Linked DNA regions of Homo sapiens: region 1 is linked to region 2. The links are contacts of gene promoters, found by promoter capture Hi-C in human tissues and cell types (Jung and others, 2019). All regions are on one chromosome and are shown on one strand. The core of a region is centred on a gene start or on the middle of the fragment in contact, and the rest is flanking DNA. Distances in the headings are between cores, read along the strand shown. Region 1 overlaps PTPRA (protein tyrosine phosphatase receptor type A). Region 2 holds the start of C20orf141 (chromosome 20 open reading frame 141).

Evidence for each region. The method cuts DNA at HindIII sites, captures the fragments that hold promoters and counts their contacts. A contact is called where the count stands out against the background at its distance.
Region 1: a fragment that was not itself captured here is called in contact with the fragment with the promoter of C20orf141 in region 2 in 2 of the 25 tissues and cell types used here (IMR-90 fibroblasts and lymphoblastoid cells).

The regions. Positions count from the first base shown.
Region 1 is chr20:2,921,438-2,925,614 of GRCh38, reverse strand. It overlaps PTPRA (protein tyrosine phosphatase receptor type A), which reads right to left. Exons shown (of 24, transcript NM_001385305.1): 2 at 2,330-2,408. Among named protein-coding and RNA genes, the nearest start is that of PTPRA, 50 kb to the right of the region's middle. RefSeq lists an enhancer at 2,386-2,886. The HindIII fragment of the contact is 5,316 bases long and covers 1-4,177 here.
Region 2 is chr20:2,812,887-2,817,140 of GRCh38, reverse strand. It overlaps C20orf141 (chromosome 20 open reading frame 141), which reads right to left and starts at 2,154. Exons shown (of 3, transcript NM_001256538.2): 1 at 2,124-2,154; 2 at 1,697-1,989; 3 at 1,311-1,603. The coding sequence starts at 1,956. The coding sequence ends at 1,366. It overlaps TMEM239 (transmembrane protein 239), which reads right to left and starts at 777. Exons shown (of 2, transcript NM_001167670.3): 1 at 726-777; 2 at 1-597. The coding sequence starts at 586. The coding sequence ends at 128. RefSeq lists a silencer at 221-280. The HindIII fragment of the contact is 18,533 bases long and covers 1-4,254 here.

The sequences.
Region 1 (4,177 bases), core at 988-3,487, 110 kb before region 2:
CTTGAACTCCTGACCTCAAGTGATCCGCCTGCCTCGGCCTCCCAAAGTGCTGGGATTACAGGCGTGAGCCACCACACTCAGCCTACACCCATGTTCATAGCACCATTAGTCACAACAGCCAAAAGGTGGAAGCAGCCCAAGTGTCCATCAGTGAATGAATGGATACACATAAAGTGGTATAAACATACAACAGAATATTATTCAACCATAAAATGTAAATTCTGATATATGCTACAACATGGATGACTTGAAAACAAGGTCATCCTATGTGAAATAAACAAGATACCTTTGTGAAATAAACCTATGTGAAACAAACCAGATGTCAAATGACAAATATGATTCCACTTATACGAGGTAACTATTATAGTCAAATTCATAGAGACAGAAGGTAGAATGGTTGCCAGCAGCTGGGGGAGGAGGAAATGGGGAGTTAGTGTTTAATGGATATGGAGTTTCAGTTTGGGGAGATGAAAAAGTTTTGGAGATGGACAGTGGTGATGGCTGCACAACAGGAATGTACTTAATGCCAATGAATTGTATACTTTAAAAGTAGTTAAAATGATAAATTTAATCTTATATATATTTTACCATGAGAAAAGTATGTATATGAACACATTAAGATGTAAAACCTTTTCAGGCCGGGCGCGGTGGCTCATGCCTGTAATCCCAGCACTTTGGGAGGCAGAGGCAGGCGGATCATGAGGTTGGGCAATCGAGACCATCCTGGCCAACATGGTGAAACTCTGTCTCTATTAAAAATACAAAAATTAGCTGGGCGTGGTGGCGCGTGTCTGTAATCCCAGCTACTTGGGAAGCTGAGGCAGGAGAATTGCTTGAACCCAGGAAGCGGAGGTTGCAGTGAGCTGAGATCACACCACTGCACTCCAGCCTGGTGACATAGCAAGACTCAGTCTCAAAAAACAAAACAAAACACCTTTTCGGTGCTGCAGAGGCTCTCTCATACCTCTTTCCAGTCACAACCTCCCACCTCCTGTCAGAGGAAGTAGGGATATGACCTTTATCACTGTAGTTTAGTTTTACTCGGTAATTCTGCTACATCTACTTTTTCTTGTCCATCTGGTTTCTTTCACTCAACCTTTTATCTACGAGATTCATCCATGTTGTCATGTCTACTGGTAGTTTGTTCCTTTCTATTACTGAATAAAATTCCATGTTATCAATAGTGTATGTCAATTTTTTGTTGTTGTTGATACATAGTCTCGCCCTGTTGCCCAGATTGGATGGAGTGCAGGGGCGTGATCTCACCTCACTGCAACTTCTGCCTCCTGGCTTCAAGCCATTCTCCTGTCTTAGCCTCCTGAGTAGCTGGGATTACAGGCGTGAGCCACCACACTCAGCTCATTTTTGTAATTTTAGTAGAGATGGGGTTTCACCATGTTGACCAGGCTGGTCAACTGATCTGCCCGCCTTAGCCTCCCAAGTGCTTAGATTACAGGTGTAAGCCACCACACCTGACCATATATCACAATTTGTTTAACTATTCTCCTGTTTTTGGACACCTGATTGGGTTACAGTTTTTCTGGCTATAATACATAAAGCTGCAGTGAACATTTGTATGTGCACTTTTGTGTAGACATATATTTTTCATTTCTCAAAGGTGGATACCTAGAATTGAAATTCCTGGGTTATTAGATACGTGTATGTTTTGCAGATATTGCCAAAGAGTTTTCTAAAACTATAGAGTTGGTTTACATTCCCACTTAAAAAACTTGGAGATCATCTGTGATCTACTCAAGAAGCTTTAATTCAATGCTGGCAGGGCATTAACTTTGGTCTTTTTATTTTTATTTTTTTGAGAAGGAGTTTCATTCTTTGGTGCCCAGAATGGAATGCAGTGTGCGATCTCAGCTCACTGCAACCTCTGTCTCCTGGGTTCAAGGGATCCTCCTGCTTCAGCCTCCCGAGTAGCTGGGATTACAGGCACATGCCACCACATCTGGCTAATTTTTGTATTTTTGGTAGAGATGGGGTTTCACCATGTTGGCCAGGCTGGTCTTGAACTCCTGACCTCAAGTGATCTGCCCGCCTCGGCCTCCCAAAGTGCTGGGATTACAGGCGTGATCCACCATGCCCAGCCTGACTTTGGTCTTTTTTTTTAAAAAAAAAAAGCTCTTCAAGTGATTCTGATTCATAATCAGGTTAAGAAGTATCTTAAAGGATAATTACAATGTTTATAATAATAAAAAAATAAGCTACTCTTACAGCTTAGAAACGAAATGAAGCAGGAAAGCATGTGATGTTAGCTTTATTTAAGGACACTACTTGGCTGGCAAAAGCCTCCTCACAGTTCTGGTTTTATTTCTCTTACCTTAGTTATTTGAACTGCATCATCCATTACCACTCAGTGGAATTCCATAAATACCTTTGTTTTTTTTTAGTTGTGTCACCTGCAACAAAAGGAAAAATACCTTTAGAAATATACAACATCCCTGAGCAGATTGTTCTAGCTTAGGAATTCAAGCCCAGCCTAGGCAACATGCAAAATCCCATCTCCACAAAAAGTAGCCAGGCAGGGTGGCACATGCCTATAATCCCAGCTACTTAGCAGGCTGAGGTGGGAGGACTGCTTGAGCCCAGAAGGTGGAGTTTCCAGTGAGCTGAGATTGTGCCACTGCACTCCAGCCTGGGAACAGAATGAGACCCAGTCTCAAAAGAAAATAGCCAGGAGCGGTGGCTCATGCCTGTAATCCCAGCACTTTGGGAGGCCGAGGTGGGTGGATCACTTGAGGTCAGGAGTTTGAGACCAGCCTAGCCAACATGCTGAAATCCTGCATCTACTAAAAATACAAAAATTAGCTGGGCATGGTGGCACGCATCTCTAATCTCAGCTGTTCAGGAGGCTGAGGTAGAATTGCTTGAACCCGGGAGGCAGAGGCTGCAGTGAGCCCAGATCGCGCCACTGCACTCCAGCTCAGGCGACAAAGTCAGACTCCATCTCAAAAAGAAAAATAAGGCCAGGTGCGGTGGCTCATGCCTATAATCCCAGCACTTTGGGAGGCCGAGGCAGGCGGATCACCTGAGAAGTCAGGAGTTCGAGACCAGCCTGGCCAACATGGTGAAACCCCGTCTCTACCAAAAATACAAAAATTAGCCAGGCACGGTGGTGGGTGTCTGTAATCCCAGTTACTTGGGAGGCTGAGGCAGGAGAATTGCTTGAACCCAGGAGGGGGAGGTTGCAGTGAGCCGAGATCGTGACAGTGTACTCCAGCCTGGGCAACAGAGTGAGACTCCATCTCAATCAATCAATCAATCAATCAATAAAACAGCCCTATTTAAACATTATGGATTGTTTTGGAGAGTGGAGTATATCCTAACAAGATGTTTCACAGGGGTGTGCTTAAAATTCCAGGAGCCACAGAACAAAGCTCCATCTTAAATAGTTCAGATTTCTGAATAGCTCATAGGTCTTTCCAGTAAGGGTAGTATAGAACACTCCTCCCTGTCCCAAAACTTGGACTATGCCACCATAGGGTTGTTTATATACCATTAGGCCCTTCCCTAGGGAACATATGGCAGTGTCTAAAGATAGTTTTGACTGTCACAACTAATAGCAGGGAGGCTGGGCTACTGGCATCTAGGGGATAGAGGCCTAGGATGCTGCTAAGCATCTTACAAATCACAGGACAACCCCCTATAACAAAGTATCCAGTCCCAAATGTCAACAATGCCAAGGCTGAAAATCTCTACATTGATCAAAGATCTATCTCTAGTCAATGACTGTGCAAAGTGGTAGTACAAGAGCCTAGCCATTTCTACCTCTTGTGGTATTCCTCTATCAGGCAATCTGGGTGGGCAGAGACTTCGTCAGGTGTGCACTGCAGTCTGATGGCTCCCTATACCCAAACATGTTCCGTTCCCCTTTTCTTCACAGGCATTACTCCTCTAATAAGCCCTTTGCCCCTCCAACCCCATCTGTGTCTGCTTCCTGTAGAATCCAGCTGGCACATAAATTAACATTCACGTTCACACTGAATGGAGTGCGCATTCACATTGTTGGAGAAACAAGAATCACTGGGGGGAAAAAAGAGTCCCAATAAATAAACCAAAATGTTAAAAATTCTAAACTTTTGTACTATCCAGTATTCCATAACAACCATCTATTATTTATACATAATAAAGAAAATATTAAAGTAAGACTTTATACTAGATTTTGCTC
Region 2 (4,254 bases), core at 905-3,404:
TAGGGACTAGGGGTCTGGGCCCTGCCAAGGCAGGGAGCCCTGATCCCATTGCCCTCCCTCTCCCCGTGGGGTCTCAGGCCCTAGGCCAGGGCTCAACAGACACAGGCAGTGGGATGGGGTTGCCCTTCTATTGATCCAAATCCTGAGTGTCGCCTGGGTGAGTCATGGAGGTGAGGAGGCCCACAAGGCTCAGCAGTGTGGAGAAGAGCAGCAGGAAGGAGGCCGTGAAGAGGAGGGCAGGCAGAGCACTGAGCACCAGCAGCAGGAGAGCCGGTAGCAGGTGGCGCCACACCGCGGCCACGACAGGCCACAAGGAGCTCAGCAGGTGGGAGCCAGTGGTGAAGAGTGCATGGCACAACATCAGTGCCAGCAGCAGGTAGAGTATCCCCTCCAGACCCCACAGCAGGCGCTGCAGCGGTTGCCGCCAGTTCGAGGTGCTCCACCACTGGATCCAGCTCGGGGGCATGTGGCTCACCCACCAGCGCACCCAGCCATGCCTCGTGACCCAGGCTGACCAGGGCACTGCCTGCTGTGGCCCCTCGCCAGCCCCGATGGTATCTGTCTCCACTCGCGGCTGCTGCATCATGTCTGGTGCACCTGGGGAGAGGGCCAGGGTCTTGAAGATGCCTGGGACCTTGGGGGGGGGGGGCAGAGAGGGGGTGCAGGGGTCAGGAGGGCACCAGTGTGCGTGGGGTGGGGCTACAGAATTAGGGACTGGGACTTACCTCTGGGCAGTTACCTAAGTCATGTTGCTTCCTGCAGCGCCCAGGACGGCCTGGCAGGCAGATCCAAGTCCCCACTCTCATCTACCCCCACCCTCCCCAGAGGAGCCCCTTTGTGACCCGGGCTGGGGTGGGGTCCAGCCAAGAGAGGAGTCACTGTAGGGTGTGAGGCCCACCCAAGTCCCTCTGCACGGACCCTCCAGGCTGGCAGGGGAGCCTCGGAGCCCCGCAGATGTAGTTTCTCATGCTTTCTCATGGGAAGCCCTCCCTGGATCCCTGTCCCTTTCCTGCTTTCCCTGCTGGCTGATATCCACCCCTTTCCAAACTGCTCTCTCGCAAGTCTTTCTGTCTGGACCTTCATTCTCTAGAGCCACAGAGGAGGCCAGAGTGGCTGCCCCCAATCCACAGGCTCTGAGGTGGCTGCCACATTCTTCCTTGGGCTCCCTGGCTAGTATCCTACCTTCTCTTGCTGCCCAAAGACTCAGATCCAGGTATCTGATACCTATATTATAGGACTGTGAGGTTCAGGCTGGGAAGAAAGGGGTATCATCCCACCTGCCCAGCCAGGAAGGAGAAAAGGGGGCCTGATGAAGAAGGGTGGTCATTGTATATTTGAAGGACACTGAGTTGTGGGGAGGGGCTCTCAGGCCCAAGGATGGAGGCAGAAAGCCAGGCCAAGCAGGGTCAAGGGCATGCCACAGGCTCTCAGGAGCGGGCCCAGCCCCATGAGCAGCAGCAGCAGTGCGTCCTGGAGGCTAAGTTGTCCTGAGACTGTACCCATTTGCAGGAGTAGAGCCTCCTGCTGTCCAGGACCTTCACCGGCCCCCTGACTCTGGCCCCTGGTGAGAAGTTTGCGCTGTGGCAGAGTGTGACCTGCGGGCCTGTGGAGAGAGAGGGTGGTGACTGGGCTTAGGGAAGTTGTCCACTGGCCCGCCCGCCTACAATGCCCACCTGCCAGGCTGCTGCCCACTTACCTATGGAGCAGGTCAAAGGTGAGGAAGCTGACCAGAAGCAGCAGCAGGGCTGGGCCAGTGGTGGAAAAGACTGCCTGGATTGTCAGTCCTAGTGCCCCCAGCCATAGGACACTGTCCAGGAGCTGGGCCCAGCTAGGGCCCCAGGTGGATACAGGTGGACGCACTGGACTACCTGACCCCTCCCCAGCACCCAGGCCCCTTGGAGGAACTGGGATCGGATCCTCACGTGCTTCGGGTCTGGGTAAGCAGAGCCGGGTCATGGAGAGAGGTGGAGGTGACGGGAAGACCTAGTGCTGAAAAGGATTATAAGGGTGAGAGTAGGGGAAGGGGTAGGGCCCGGGCAGACAGAAGGGTGAGCTCAGAGTGGGGAATTAGGCTCCTGCAGAGTCTCCCCCTCCCCCATACCCACCCAGCAAACCCTCCTCACCTCCTCCCACTTTGGTCAGCATTCTGGGAGTGGGCACCCGGGGCATTGTGACCTGTTACCACGTGGGGCCGTGGGGTAGGGAGGGGGCTGCTGCTGCTGCTGCTCTGACCTCATAAGCAGCTGGTGGCCTAGGTGGGGCTTAGCTGGGAAGTCAGGGATTTCTGAGAACTAAGACTCATCCTCTTGCCTTTGCTGATTCTCTGCCCTAGGGCCCTCCCTTGGGGATCTGAGTTGTCAGGAAGGCATTCTAACCCCATTACTACTTGGGCATCTGTCCAAGGGAGCGAGGTCTGCTTTCTTCTTCCTGTGAGTTTGCAGAGCTGCAGGTCCAGGGCGAAGTCATTCAATATCTCTGTCCCCAGCTGTCTTCCCTGTGGGTCCTTCTAGGGGATTTTTCAGGCCTGAAGTTCCAGATTGCAGAGATGGGCTCTGCCAGGGGACTGCCTGAGGCTTCTGGGGCTGGGCTTCCGCATAACCTGCTAAATGGGGGTGAGAGAGGAGGGGGCTGTTCAGGTATTCTAAGCACTACAGTTTATAGGGGGTGTTATGCATACTGGGGTTCCAGTAATGAGGTAGAGGACATGAACTTAAGAGGACTATGACCTAGTAACCCCCTTATTAGAGGTTAAGGTTACAGTCTGAGAATGGAGTTAAGGAAAATGAACATATAATGAAGGGCTTAGTCACTTGGATTATCAGTATATCAGATTACACTGATCATCTGTAAATGGGTGGTGGCCATAGGGGTCCAGCACATCTCAGTTTAGTGACTTGAGAGGCAAGAGCGGAAATGTGTCATAATTAAGAGAACTTAATCTTTGCCCACATATCATACTTTGAAGGAAAACTGGTAGGGGTGGCAAAATGGGAGACAGTGGCCATACAGCCCCTAGGAGAGGAGGAGACAGAACAAGAATCAGGCTGCATATCCACCTCCAGCAGGCCTTGCCCAGAGACGAGGGTCACCAGCCCTAATGACCATGCACTGATCGCCCTTGGTCTGGCTGTTCTTGCTTATCCAGCAGCTGGGTTTTACGAGTAGATTTGTCCGTAATGGGATAGGGTATAACAGAAGATCCCAGAATTTTTTTTTTTTTGGCATTAAGTTCCAATTGTGCTTGTAAAGGAACATTAAGGTTTAAGATTGGCAATTCCCTGAGCCTGATCAATCCTGGATGCATCCACACAATTGCATTCCTGGACATACAGACCTGGGGAGCATGTCCTGATGAGTCCACCAAGATGAGGCTACTCCATATTGCAGGGCATGGGGGGATCGGAGAGTCTAAAGCTCCTTAAAGATTTACTATGCACCAGGTGCTCTGTATGCATGTATAGGAGAGTTCTGTCTGTGATTTTCTCAGAGTTTATTTTGTATTCAACAATCATTTATTTAAGTGCTTCCTATGTGCCAGGCACTGCACCAGATGGTGGGTGTATTAGGCCATTCTTGCGTTGCTATGAAGAAATACCTGAGACTGGGTAATTTATAAGAAAAGAGGCTTAATTGGCTTGCAGTTTTGCAGGCTGTACAGGAAGTAGGGTACCAGCATCTGCTTTTGGGGAGACCTCAGGAAACTTCCAATCATGGCAGAAGGCAAAGGGTGAAGAGCAAGGGAGAGAGTGGTGGTTAGGGGAGTTGCCACACACTTAAACAACCAGATCTTGAGAGAACTCACTCACTATTTCAAGGACAGCACCAAGCCATGAAATATCCACCCCCATGACCCAAACACCTCCCATCAGGCCCTACCTCCAACATTGGGATTTGAGATTTCAACTTGAGATTTGGACAAATATTCAGACTATATCAATGGGTCATAATTTCTAAAAGTAGAGCCTGAGATGGGGATACTTGTACACATGGTTTATTGAGGGAGTGCTCTGAGGAGGAAAACCTTTCTTTCTATTTTTTTTTTTTTTTTTTTTTGAGACAGAGTTTCGCTCTTGTTGCCCAGGCTGGAGTGCAATGGCGCCATCTTGGCTCACTGCAACCTCCGCCTCCCGGGTTTAAGTGATTCTCCTGCTTCAGCCTCCCAAGTAACTGAGATTACAGGCACCCACCACCACACCCAGCTAATTTTTGTATTTTTAGTAGAGACAGGGTTTCACCATGTCGGCCAGGCTGGTC